Linked DNA regions of Homo sapiens: region 1 is linked to region 2. Evidence: promoter capture Hi-C in 16 types of primary human blood cells and fetal thymus (Javierre and others, 2016). All regions are on one chromosome and are shown on one strand. Each heading gives the region's core, a stretch centred on a gene start or on the middle of the fragment in contact. The rest is flanking DNA. Distances are from core to core; before and after follow the strand shown.

Region 1 (6,889 bases), core at 1,709-4,208, 37 kb after region 2:
ATCTGCCAATACGTCTCCCGTCCCTCACACACTTGGAATTCTGGGCCTCTTGAGGGCTTTCTCCTGAGTTCTCCTGCGGCCCTTGCTGAAATTGAGGCTTGCCGCTATTCTCTTGGTGAACAAATATGCATATTTTAAAAGCTTCAATTACCTTTATGTTGATGCTTCGGTCAACACATTTACTGAGCACCTACTATGTGCTCAACCCTGTTCTGGTGTTTGGGATACATCAGTGAGTAAAGTCCCTGCTCTCATGGCACTTGTGTTGTCACATATAAATGCCACCTGTCTCTATTGTGCTTGCTCCAACTCCCCAGCTCCATTACCTCCATGACATCTCCATATAGATGGCCCACGGCAGCTAGGTATCATGCCCAAATGGAATCAGCCCTCCCCTACCCCAAACTGGCTATCTGGTCTACCTTCATCAGTCTTCTTTCTTCCAGTCTTGAGGTCCCACACTGTGCAGTCATTCTTCACTCTCCTCTCTCCTCAGTGTTATAACATCTATTCCTATCTCTGAATCTAGAACCTCTTCACCCATGATCTGTATTTACTGCAACAACTTCCTAATTGGCGTCCTGATGGTGAAATGGCTCCTTTCTCTCTTCTAGGCACTGTTGCCAGACGAGTCTTCCATTAAGCACTCATCCCATCCTGGCCCTCATTCTCTGCTCCTCACCTCCACCAGCCAATGCCCCCTCATTGTCCCAGGGGATATTACTGCAGAACTACAGACACTTTGCAATTTTACACTGGGAATTGCCAACTACCCTTTTAAAGCCTATAGGTGGGTTGGGCATGGTGGCTCATGGCTGTAATCCCAGCACTTTAGGAGGCTGATGCAGGAGGATCACTTGAGCCCAGGAATAGACCAGCCTGGCCGGGCGCGGTGGCTCATGCTTGTAATCCCAGCACTTTGGGAGGCTGAGGCGGGCGGATCACGAGGTCAGGAGATCGAGACCACGGTGAAACCCCATCTCTACTAAAAATACAAAAAATTAGCCGGGCGTGGTGGCAGGTGCCTGTAGTCCCAGCTACTCGGAGAGGCTGAGGCAGGAGAATGGCGTGAACCCGGGAGGCGGAGCTTGCGGTGAGCCAAGATCGCGCCACTGCACTCCAGCCTGGGCAACAGAGCAAGACTCCGTCTCAAAAAAAAAAAAAAAAAAAAAAAAAGTAATAGGCCAGCCTGGGCAACATGGCGAATCCCCATCTCTATAAAACAAAACAAGAACAAAAATTAGCCAGGTGTGGTGGCATGTGCCTGTGGTCCCAGCTATTCTGGAGGCTGAGTGGGGAGGATAACTTGACTCCAGGAGTTTGAGACCAGCCTGGACGACATGGCAAAACCCCATCTCTACAAAAAAAACACAAAAAATTAGCCGGGCATGGTGGTATGGCCATGGTGGTCCCACCTCCTTGGGAGGCTTAAGTGGGAGGATCACTTGAGCCCATGAGGTCAAGGCTGCAGTGAGCTGAGATCGTGCCACTGCACTCCAGCCTGGGTGACAGAATGAGACCCTGTCTCAAAAACAAAATTTTAGTATAAAAAATAAAAGCCCACAGGCATACTGACTTGCCATGGTTGCAGGTAGTTAGTTGTAAGGGCCAGGACTAGAGTGCAGCTGACAAAGCTCCCGGTGGACTACCTATGTTGAGGGGGATGTCTCCTTCACTAGGGTGGACAGTGAAGAGGTGGGAGAAAATGGCTGTAATAGCAACCCAACGTTAGCCACACTTCTTTCAAGGTGGGGGATAGTCAAAGGATTCATCCAAGTGTCAAAGGGATGTATCTGTAAAGCGCTTAGAACAGTGCTTGGCATATAAATGTTTCTTATAGAAGAAATAGATCAAACCTCTTAAGTACCTCAGGAAGCAAACTAACTTTTTATGCTTCATGACAATTACATGGCAGATATGAAGTTGTTTCTCAGTGGATGTGGAACAGGCCCAAAGGTATTGTATTAAAGGGCTAATTTTGGCTGGGTGCGGTGGCTCATGCCTGTAATCCTAGCACTTTGGGAGGCTGAGGCGGGCAGATCACTTGAAGTCAGGAGTTCAACACCAGCCTAGCCAACATGGCAAAACCCCATCTCTACTAAAAATACAAAAAGTTAGCTGGGTGTGGTAGCACATGTCTGTAGTCCCAGTTACTCGGGAGACTGAGGCAGGAGAATCACTTGAACCTGGGAGGCGGAGGTTGCAGTGAGCCAAGATTGCACCACTGCACTCCAGCCTGGGCAACAGAGCGAGATGCCATCTCAAAACGATAAAAATTTTAAAAAATAAAGGGCTAATTTTGGTTTTTGCTGGTAAGTTTTTTCATTTTGTTTCCCAATATAATGAGATTTACTTTCTGGTCATACGGGAAAAAACTTTATTCAACTCAGAGCTGAGCTATGATTAGGAGAGCCAAAGAAAGGCTCAGGACAGGAACATCTCCCACCACTTAGCAACTAAGTAAAATGCGTCCGCTACTTGGCAGAAAACACTGCTTCTACTTGAGGGTGAGGCTATCCAAGTTCTGTGGGAATCTGTGTGCGAGTCCCAAGTACTCATGAGTACAATTGGGAAAATAATCTCTGACTTGTTCTAAGAGTTTAAGCAAGGAAATGGAGTCTCTAGAAAGAAAAAGAAGAGTTCTGGAAATGGTACTCTATTTTCCAACCAATAAAGTCCTCCAGGTACCTGAGGGAGACCTTGTCAGGCAGGAATCTGGGTTTGGAAAGACTGGAAAGGGTTAACATTAGCAGGACTGGAGGCCTCCACACTCTAGGACTTAGCATTATACTTAATACCCTCCTTCAAATAGTACCTGTGGTTGTAAATTAATATTTTTGTTGGAATTGACATCCAAGCCCCCTGTTCTGGTCCGTCAGACTCTCAACCCTCACAATACTCAGTAGGAATCTCCTGCTGCGTTCAGTGTCTCCTCACTGTACCGCAGACACAATTTCCATTCCTCTCGAACTGTACTGTAAAGGAGACTCTTCGTCCTTCCTCACGACACAGCTCACACCCCACGGCACAGGGTTCTCCGACTCCGTATCTGTGCTGACCTCTTCTGGAAACTGGTTCCCTACAGGACTGCTTAGATTTGTGGCTTGTCTTTCCCACTGGTTTTTGGATGCCCTTAAAGCCAGAAATGACCTTTCCTTTTAACAGAAAGGTGGGTTGTTAAGTCAAGAAGTCCTGCGTATGAGTCTCAAGGTGAGTGGCCCAGCAAGCTACCACCTTTTTTTTTTTTTTTGGAGATAAGAGTGTCACTGTTGCCCAGGCTGGAGTGTAATGGTGCCATCTTGCCTCACTGCAACCTCCACCTCCTGGGTTCAAGCGATTCTCCTGCCTCAGCCTCCCAAGTAGCTGGGATTACAGGCGCACACCACCAAACACAGCTGATTTTTATATTTTTAGTCGACAGGGTTTCACCATGTTGGCCAGGCTGGTCTCAAACTCCTGACCTCAGGTGATCCGCCTGCCTCAGCCTCCCAAAATGCTGAGATTACAGGGGTGAGCCACCGGCCCCCACCACTTCTCTGAGCCAGTGTCCACATCTGTGAAATGGGTGGAAGGCTGGTGTGAGAAATGAGAATACGCATCAAGTTCCTGTTCACACTAAGTTCTCAAAAAACGAGGTCCTTCTCCTTTTCTCATCTCTAGAATACGCTGTTACTCTCTGGATGAAGTAGGTGATTCCTGAATGGTGTCAGAGCAGTTTGCACTATCATGTGCCAGTGTGCAGCAGTTTAATCTGTAGAAGCCACTGGAAGCCTTATGACCCGAGGCTGAAAACTGAGGGTGAGAATTGCCTTGTTCTTCCTTGTACTCCCACTGCACATGGTGCTTTGTACCCACAGAGTGCTAAGTTTTGTTGGAACAAGAAATGAGATTTCTCCAATGCTACTCAAGTTCACTGGAGGGCACAGCTGCTCCTCAGAAGCCCTCACCCACAGACACATAAGCTACTGCCCTTAGGCTGCTGCCCTGGGGTCTCCAAGCCAAAGTGCTCCTCAGCCCTCCATGGCATCTGCCCCTCTGTCCAATGTCAGGCAGAGGCTCCCAGGGATGGGAAATAGGAGGGGCTCCTAATAGTGACAGTGGCTGAAGAACTCCAGGGTGGTTTTGAGAATGCAATGGCAGCCTTAGCCACTGGAGGAGGACTAACCAGAAAGAGTGAGGAAGAGTCCAGGCCTGGCCTCAGACAGGCCGCAGTGCTCAGCCTTCCTTTTACCCTGATGAGTGTTCTCCCAGTGTCAGGAAGAGGGCAGAACTCTCTGTCAGGTCTTTGAGTCAACTGAATTGAGGAAGGAGGGCTGGACACCAGCCAGAGCCCCCAGGTAAGCGCTGGCATCAGCACGACACAGGACTCAGAGAGCACAGAGTTAACACGCTCCTGCCGAGTCCCAAAGAGTCACGAGTGTGAAAATGCCGAGTGTGGGCACGCAGCCCTAGCCAGAGCCCTGCCTGGTGAGGCTGCTCTTATAATTTGGGAATCTGCTCAATTTTCTAAAAGAAAGCTCTGTTCTACTACACTCAGCATCAAGGGACAGCTCGGCTGTTTATTAAGTCAGTAGAAAAATGACTGTACAGGTTTAAGGTGCAGGAATGAAGATGGGGCAGACTGGGCCCCAGCATCTGAGGCCCCACCCCCATGCCAGAGAGCTCCAGTCCAGAGCCTGAAGTGTGGTCAGCACATGTGAGCTATCTGGATGTCCAGGAATATCTAAGTGTGCTGCCCCCGTAGGAGGCACTGGAATTCCTTGCCCAGCAGCTGGGCCTAAAGAGAAGAGGCTGAGGAAGCCAGGCCCTAGAAACGGCCCAGCACGGTGGCTAACAGAGCCATGCGGATGTACATGCCGTTCTCAGCCTGGCGGAAGTAGGCTGCGCGGGGATCCGAGTCCACTTCCACGCTGCAAAAAAAAAAAAAAAAAAAAAGGAAGTGTTATCGTGCAGCCCATGGATGGCTTGTCCAGGACTAAGTCTCCTCCCGTCCACCAGCCCCGAGGCAGTCTCTGACTCTGATGCTGCACCACCTTATCTCGTTGACACGGGGCATCGGGTGCATCACCACCATCTTCTTCTTGGCCCGGGTCATGATGTGGGGAGTGAGGATGAACTGACCAAAGCACTGCAAAGCAGATGGGGTCCCCATTAGTGCCTTGGGGTAGGAGTGGCTACAGAGGACACAAGTCTGGGCTCCACTGGGGTCCCCTCCACACCCACATGCAGCTATGGCAATTGACAGATGTGAAGTTTAACAGCTCTGACCCAGCCCTCAGCCCAGCCTTTCTGTCCTCATATCTGATGCCCTACGGCAGCAGCCCTGGCTTCTTCCTCAAGCCCAGCACTCACAGCTTCGTACTCCTGGGTAGAGCCAAATCGTTCCTTCTGGATTCGAGTCATGTAGAGCACATCAGTGTCAGGCAGCGCCTCCTCAATGCTCTCGAATTCCTCCTGGAGGGTGAGGAGAGCCATGGTGGATGCAGCGCTGGGCTCTGACTGCCCAACCCACATCTCCATGGCTTCCAGGCAGGGCTGTGAGGGTCTCACCTGCTTGGTGCCGCGGGAGGCCACGAAGGCCCGCACAGTGGGTGGCATGCGCAGGCTGGGAGGTGCCACGTAGCGCAGGCTGACACGATACTGGGTGAGCAGGCAGGCCAGGGAATGTACTGTGCGTCCGTGCTTCAGGTCACCCACCATCGTGATCTAGGAGAGGAATCCAGTCACCACAGGGATCCCAGACTGAGTGCCCCCCGACATCATTTCCAAGCTTTTAAAAGCCTCTGGAGCAGAATGAAGGCCTCCTTGATGCAGCTGTCCTGTACCGGGGTAACCACTTCCTGCCTCCCTCTCTAGATCGTCCCCTGGCAGGGATCCAAACCCTGCCACCACCCTCACCGTCATGCCATTGACAGTTCCCAGCTCCTCACGGATGGTGAAGATGTCCAGCAGGGCCTGGGTGGGGTGCTCTCCGACCCCATCCCCAGCATTGATCACTGGCCTCCGGCAGTGCTTGGCGGCCAGCTGGAAAAAAGGGGAAAATCCTGTCTTTTGCAGCTCAGAGGCCCCCCAACTGCCAGTCCCCCTCTTCTGGGGTCCCCTCACTCATCTGGCCCAAAACACAGAAAACGTGGGCAGAAGGGTTCTCATGCCCCTGGGTCCAGCCTTCTTAACCCCATCTCAGTACCCAGGCTGGCCTCACCTCCACTGCTCCAGGCTGGGGGTGCCGGAGCACGACGACGTCGGCATAGCAGCTCATGGTCTGCACGGAGTCAGCCAGGGATTCGCCCTTCTGGACGGACGATGTGGCTTCCGAGAAGCTGAGCACAGCACCTCCCAGCCGGGCCATGGCTGCTGCAAAGGAGCTGCTGGTCCGTGTGCTCACTTCATAGAACATGGAGGCCATGACCTTCCCCTAGGGAAAGAGCAAGATGGAAGGTGTACGTATGCGTGTCCACCCTGGGGAAACCCCAGCTAGGCACCACCACCCCAACTGACACTTGAGGGGTGCTGTGAGGACCCTTCTGCACCCAAACCTCCCCTGTGACCTGTCAGAGCCTTGACGTTTCCACCACTGGTGTCACTCTGAGCTAAAGGCTCTGCCTCCAGAAAACCACCCATCATTAAGTGTCTGAACGAGCTGGGAAAGGAGGACACACCCTAGCTCTCTCCCATGATTGCAGCAGCCCAGACCAGAAGACCCCACTAGTGGGGCGATGGTCTCATGCTCAGGGCCTCCCCAGCCAGCTAAATCCTGCTTTGGGGAGGGAAAACGTGGGGGAAGATCTACAGCAGCAGAGGGATGGACTAGCATAAGGGGACGGGATGGCAGGGGGAGGAAGACCCACTCTGACCACTGCGCGGCCCTGCGCTGATGCGGCCCAAGGGC
Region 2 (6,962 bases), core at 2,427-4,926:
ACCCCTTAATACTGTTCAACTAACAGTATTTTCTTTTTTGTAGAGATGAGGTCTCACTATGTTGCCCAGGCTGGTCTTAAATTCCTGGGCTCAAGTGATCCTCCTGTCTCAGCCTCCCAAAGTGTTGGGATTACAGGCATGAGCCACCTTACGTAGCCAGTATTTTTAAATAAATTGTTTTCAAATTTTGCTTCCTGGCTGTCTAGTTAACTTGGTCTTATAAAATCACAATTCCCAAAAACTCTTGTTTGTTGTCCATCACGGCAGTTTTTAGGACAACAAAACACAGAAAACCATCTAAATGTTTTAGAGGACAGATTATTTAAATAGACTGTGGTCCAGTCATAACAATGAAAACTACACAGCTATTTAAAAACGAAGACATAAATCTGAATGGTGGATATGGAACAATCACCCACAGCGAGTAAGTGAACAAAGGCAGGTGGGGGGCGATGGGTCTCGCCTGAGAACACATATACATGCAAATGTGCCGATTTGTGGAAATTTTCTGGAAGTATTCCCAAGAAAGTTGGTAATAGTTACTTCTATCTGGTGAGACAACTGAGGGTCTGAGGTGAATAGCAGATTTGCTTTTCATGATATGAACTCCTATACTGCTTGAAAACAGTATGTTTACATGTTACAAATTCTAAGTGATATACTGGTATCACTTTGATAACCGTTAACTTTCTAGGCAATGCTCTAAGGGTATTCTTCCTAAGTGGTTTGAAGGTAGAGGAAAAGTCCTATTCTTTCCAAAAGTCCTATTCTTGCCCCATACTTAGAAAACAGACAATCTGATTATGCCTACAGTTGTCAAAATGTGGAGGCAATGTGCGAAAAAACTAAATATGCTCATCTTTCAGAGGGAGATCTACTGAGATATATTGAGATACACAGATCTAAGTGCAGCTGAAGAACTGGGTCAGCCTCCCACCAGGCCCTCCCAAATAAGCAGCAAGGGATGAGCTGTTCACTCTTCCTCCTTGGAGGGCCCAAGGGTGCTTTGCACCTCAAAAGATACACCACTCCAGATCCACAGAGCCACCCCAAAGCCCTGGGTATCATGTTATCTCCAAATATTCTGTACAGGATTTGCCCCAAGCCATTCCAAGGTCTCTCTGAGCCCAGATCCGTATTCTAGAGCTTTCTGGAACTGAAACAGTGTGCTTGGATAGAGAGAGTTGACTTAAATAAGCAGGTCACTTAAACACATTCTAGCCTCCATGTATGGGGCCTATTCCTCTGCCAGATGACAGAGGGACCCAGGAATGCACTTGGCCCTTCTGACCACTTTTCTACAGGACACATCACCTTAGCTTTCAAAACTTCTCTTTGCTTTCACACATTTCAAGTTCCAGTGTGAGGATGTTTCACTGTAAGTTCATGAGAAAGGATGGCAAAATCTTTCTGCCATTTCCCTCCTAGGCATCTCAGCCTGAAGGATGTTCAGAGTTACTTAGACCAAGGAAAAACCAAGATGGTGGGCAAAGCATTGCCTCTCATGTAGGACTTCATGCCCAGGACGAGGAGGCACAGCATTTGGTCTAGGCCCCCCGAGAGGGAAAATCTACTGGCTCTGAGATACTCTGGAGCTGAATAATGGCAGGTTTGGACACATAAAGAATAGGAGAGGGAATGGGTCTCAATGGGAAGATGGCAGGAGAGACCACAGAGTGCTGGTCTTCAGTGAAGGTGGCACAGAGCAGACACACAAGGTGTGGGTCACAGGGTACATTGTGGGATGGCCTGACCTAGCCAGCCCATTCCTTTCCAAAACAAGCTGCCCCAAGGAACTTAAAAAGGGAAGTATTTTCTTGGTTAGGTTAAAAATCACTTGTGTTTAACACATTTCCTCATCATTTCTGACACAGATGAAGAATACTTGTTTGGGATGTTCCATGTCACTGACACACATACTAAACCAGCCAGCTCTGGTCTATTCGGGGTTTGTTTTTGTTTTTGTTTTTTTGAGATGGAGTCTTGCTCTGTCGCCCAGGTCAGAGTGCAGTGGCATGATCTCGGCTCAAGGCAACCTCCACCTCCTGGGTTCAAGTGATTCTCCTGCCTCAGCCTCCTGAGTAGCTGGGACTACAGGCGCCTGCAACCACGCCCGGCTAATTTTTGTATTTTTGGTAGAGATGGGGTTTTACCATATTGGCCAAGCTGGTCTTGAACTCCTGACCTCGTGATCTGCTGGCCTCAGCTTCCCAAAGTGTTGGGATTACAGGCGTGAGCCACTGCACCTGGCCATATTCAGGGCTTTTACTTAACGGCAAGGCCGTGTGTGTGTGTGTGTGTGTGTGTGTGTGTGTGTGTGCGCGCGTGTGTGTGTGTGTGCCTTTGCCCCTCACTCTCCCTGATCTCTGTTCCATTTTATAGCCTACTAGAACCTCCCCAGTAGCACAGGAAAAAAAAAAAAAGCCCACTTATAATCCATTCTGGTATATGCTGCTTTTATTTCTAAACCAGTGGCTATACTAGTATCTGTGAATTTGATTAGCTCTGCTTGGCCCCATGACCACAGATAAAACAAAACTGGCTGGACTTCTGAGAAGTAAATTTCTTTGCCTTCTCCCTGCTTGTCAAGTGACCTCAGTAGCTTTTAACCAGTAGGCCTCTTTACTGAACAATCTGGAGGGTAACAGGTATGAACTCAAGTTGGGGAGAGTTCCCAGTCTCCTGCCCACTATGTCTAACTCTGTCACCCACAATGGATGCCTTCAACTTTCCTTAAATACAAATAGTTTTACTGCCATTATGGAGCTTTCTCACAGGGTCGGGTTTTGTTTGTTTGTTTTTTAACGTTTCATTATCTCATTAATCTTTTCTCCGTATTTTCCACAATGCTCTCGAAGTCTGAAACTCCAAACTGGAATGCAGAGTCTGGCACAGGCTCTTATAAAGCCCGGTGTGGGATACCCTCCCTCCCAGTTTCCACAGGGTCTACTTTCCTTGGTAGATCCCAGCACTCCAGCTGCCGTCTATGCACAGGCTGTACCTGCCAGCCTGCAGGGCAGCTGCTGACTCATGCTTGCTCTGGGATTTGCTTGGACCCCAGCCCTTCTGCTCTCCAGCCACAACAGCCACCACCCACCTCAGAGAGCACTCTATCCATCACCTTCTGGGGTCTCAGCTCTGACCTGATCAGTCCCCCACAGGTCTGCATTGCTTTACCTGGCCCTGCCCCGTCCCTGGCACCCACCTGGAAGACGTCGTTGGCACATTTGCGGCACAGGTTGTGTTGGCAGGGCAGGATCACCACTGGTTTGGAGAACATCTCCAGGCAGATGGGGCAGATGAGCTGCTTCTCCAGGTTGTCCATGCTGTGTGCATCCCCTAGCAGCGGCTTGAAACCCACTGTGAAGTTCATCCCCTCGGTGGTCGTGCCTGGCCTGGGCCCTGCTCCTGGCCTTCACTCACTGCCTGTAGACCCTTCCTCGCTTAGATGGCCTCTGGATTCCCTTCTGTGGCTCACTCTTGAAATAGCTCTGCTTTCTCTCCTGTCCCTTTAACAACTTGTCTCGTCCCAGATAGCAGTCTTCGGACAGTCTCTACTTTCTGCTCTGCACCCTCGCCAGGCTCACGTAGTTTTAGCTATCCCTCTCTCTCTGTAAAATTCTCCTTTTGTTTCCCAAATGACTCTCTCTTGTTCACTCTGTGGGTAGCACTGTTTGTCCCTTACTCCCCAGAGAGCAGATTAATTTTACTGTGGGGGTTGGGAGACAAGGGGCATCTGCATGACATTCCAATTCCCAATTTAGCTCATGTAAGGCGAGCCACAGCTGTCATGGAGTGAGTGACCCTGACTCACTCAGGAATGGGTGACTCCCTTGAGCAAGGGCAGGGGTGAGTGCCACTGCTTACAGTGAAAGGTGGGTCAGCAAAGGTGCTGCCCTCTCACTCTGAAGGCTCCTCTCAGCCCGGGACCCCTGTTCTGGCTTGGGCCCTTCTTCCAGGACAGTGACACAGAATCTAAATCTGCCTGTGTGAGAGGCACCCATACATAGCTCAGGGTGGGAGGAAAGATCTTGCCAGACTTAGAGTCAGTAGCGGTTGCCTCCTCCACAGGCTCAGCCAGTGACCCTGGTCCTCCTCCTCAAGACTGTGTGATTCAGAACAGCAGCTCCAGGGACTACATCAAGCCTCTTGTCCAACACCTCTGGCTCATTTTTGTTCTTCCCTGGCCTTTTCTTATATCACCCTAGGAAAAGAAGCTCAAGAGGCTAGAAATGACTGTTGTGCCAAGGCCTGGACCTACCTATGAGCATGCCCCCGAGGAAATGTGGGATTCTGGTCCGTGAACACATCCCTGGAGCCACTCCAAGGACTCAAATTTGTTAGGAAATTGGGAGAAGGTGAGCTGGGCAGAAAGGACCTGAATGCCAGGGACCTATTTTGGGCACCCAGGGAATCAATCTCCAGGGAAATTTTAGAGCACTGACAAAGTCATAATCACAAGGCTCCGGGAAGCCTCTGACCCAGCTCCACAGTTGTCCAGGACTCCTACTCTCCAAGCCAGGCTTGCCCCACTTGTGAGCACTGGTCTTCTTTTTCTCCTACAAGTCTTCTCCACTTGATCTTAGGCAAAAGGCCAAGAAGCAATTTCTTTAGGCCTTTTTTCTCTACCCCAGACACAATTTGTCTTTTTTGGGCATAATATATGCCTTGGGATTGGATGAAAGCTCTTTTATTTACTGACATTCTTTAGCCTTTCTCCTAGTCCAGGGAGAGAAGTTTGAGGAATTAGTAGGCTGTGACCCTGAGTGGGTGGGAAATACACGGTGTGAGGAGGATACGAAACAGCAGCACAAAGAGGCAAGAGTGGGAAAAGAGTCCAGAAAGTACAATCTTTTCCAGATCACATATTTCATGCCCCTATTTTTAAGAACAAATTATATGTCAATTGGCCTGCATAATATGTGAAAAGGATGGAGGCAAGCTGGCACTGATGTTTGAACTTCAGTTAACCTACAGGACCAAGGCTAATGCATGCTGTGCTGGTAGCTGAAGTCCAAGGATAATCTAAAGATGGAATGACTACCCCTAAGCCTCAAATGCACTCGCAGTTTTCCTGAGTTGACTCATAGTGGCATGGAATGAGGCTGGCAATGCCAATGGCCGTGGGCACCAGAAGATGAAACCAACTCCATACAGGCGTTATTGGCTTAGGAATGAGGCTGATGCTAGGGGTTCTTGGTACACAGAGTTGCAACAAGGGAGAATTAATGGGTGCAGCAGCTCCAGGGACAGGATCCACCCTGCTCAGTTATCAGGCTCTTGGTGGTGATATCGCAAGGGGCTCAGGGATCCTACCAGCTGGCATTGGTTCCAATAACAAGGCAGACACAGGAAAAAGACTCTTCAGGAAAAATCTGCCACCACTGCCTGAGACCTCATAAGGGGAGGGAGGGGAGGGCTGCTTTCTGACGGAGTAAAATTGGGACTGCAACTGAAAGGAAGAGTAGCTGGGCAACCCCATACAGAGTTGTGGTACCAAGGGTAGAGGTGATGTCCTTACTGGGATCAACGTCATCAGTGCTTCTGAAGAGATTCTTGAGATCCTTATAAGAAGAGGGGTCAAATCAGGGTCAATGTCAGGACAGGGCTACTTGCTCCTCTCTTCAATGTGTCCAGGGGACTGGGCAGCAGAAGGCACCCTCACTGGGTCAGCACCTAGTGGCGGAAGAAGGTGGCGCTTTATTAATCAGAAGGAATAATTACCTAGAACTTAAAGCAAACCCCTACATGTAAGGATATAAACACATAGTCCATACTATAAGGATGTAAACTTTCTACTAATGACTCATCTGACGTTAGCTTACATGCTTTTCTTATCTGATAACTGTTGCTGCCTTTCGGTTTACATACCTCATCCTTCTTCATCTCTTAAAAATCATCTTCGCTATTTTCCTCGCTTCTAAAATCACATTTGGCTCCTATGATGGAATTATATATATGTTTACATATACAAACGTTTAGTAACTTTTCGTAGTGTACTGATGAGAAAACCGTTACCTTGCAGTTACTCATTAGCATCACCAGGTGGCGCTGGTGTCAAGTTCAATCAGCTTATAAAAGTTCATTTGGGGGGGAATGATCTCAGACTTTCCTTTTCTTTTCTTCCTCTTCCTCTTCCCCTCCCCCTCCTCCTCCTTTCCTTCTTCTTCTTCTTCTTTTTTGATACAGGGTCTCACTCTGTCACCCAGGCTGGAGTGCAGTGGCATGATCACAGCTCACTGTAACCTCAACCTCCCAGACTCAAATAATCCTCCCACCTCAGCCTCCCCTGTAGCTGAGACTACAGGTGTGCACTGCCATGACCGGCTGACTTCTGTATTTTTTTTTTTTTTTTTGTAGATACTGGGTTTCATGATGTTGCTGAGGCTGGTCTCAAACTCCTGAGCTCAAGTGATCTGCCCACCTTGGCTCCCCAAAGTGCTGGGATTACAGGCACAAGCCACTGCAACTGGCCCTTTCCTTTGAGTAGATGGAAAAAATTGCATCCCGCCAGGCACAGTGGCTCATGCCTATAAACCCAACACTTTGGGAGGCCAAGGCAGGTGGATCACTTGAGGTCAGGAGTTGGAGACCAGACTGGCCAACATGGCGAAACCCTGACTCTACTAAAAATAAAAAATTAGCCAGCTAATTTTTTAGTAATCCCAGCTACTCAGGAGGCTGAGGCAGTAGAATCGCTTGAACCCGGGAGGCAGAGGTTGCAATGAGCTGAGATCGCACCACTGCACTCCATCCAGCCTGGGTGACAGACTGAGACTACATCTCAACACCACCACCACCAACAACAACAAAACAACAACAACAAAAATTGCATCCTCAAATCTGTCTTAACCTAACTGTCCTCTCTAGACATACTCTCCCACCCCATTCCTTAGCTTAACAGGAGCTGACACTACTACCTTCAAACTGTCAGTTTGTCGTGTGATGCACAGAAACATATT

What was found. The method cuts DNA at HindIII sites, captures the fragments that hold promoters and counts their contacts. A CHiCAGO score of 5 or more calls a contact.
Region 1: a fragment that was not itself captured here is called in contact with the fragment with the promoter of TRIM54 in region 2 in 2 of 17 cell types (M2 macrophages and M0 macrophages); the score reaches 6.6 in M2 macrophages.

The regions. Positions count from the first base shown.
Region 1 is chr2:27,241,437-27,248,325 of GRCh38, reverse strand. It overlaps CAD (carbamoyl-phosphate synthetase 2, aspartate transcarbamylase, and dihydroorotase), which reads right to left. Exons shown (of 44, transcript NM_004341.5): 39 at 6,203-6,415; 40 at 5,899-6,024; 41 at 5,551-5,706; 42 at 5,353-5,454; 43 at 5,034-5,128; 44 at 4,383-4,910. The coding sequence ends at 4,808. Among named protein-coding and RNA genes, the nearest start is that of SLC30A3, 18 kb to the left of the region's middle. RefSeq lists an enhancer at 4,490-5,689. The HindIII fragment of the contact is 5,629 bases long and covers 144-5,772 here.
Region 2 is chr2:27,279,143-27,286,104 of GRCh38, reverse strand. It overlaps TRIM54 (tripartite motif containing 54), which reads right to left and starts at 3,676. Exons shown (of 9, transcript NM_187841.3): 1 at 3,206-3,676. The coding sequence starts at 3,373. DNAJC5G (DnaJ heat shock protein family (Hsp40) member C5 gamma) reads right to left here. Exons shown (of 7, transcript NM_173650.3): 6 at 5,872-5,939; 7 at 4,606-5,676. The coding sequence ends at 5,890. The HindIII fragment of the contact is 12,114 bases long and covers 1-6,962 here.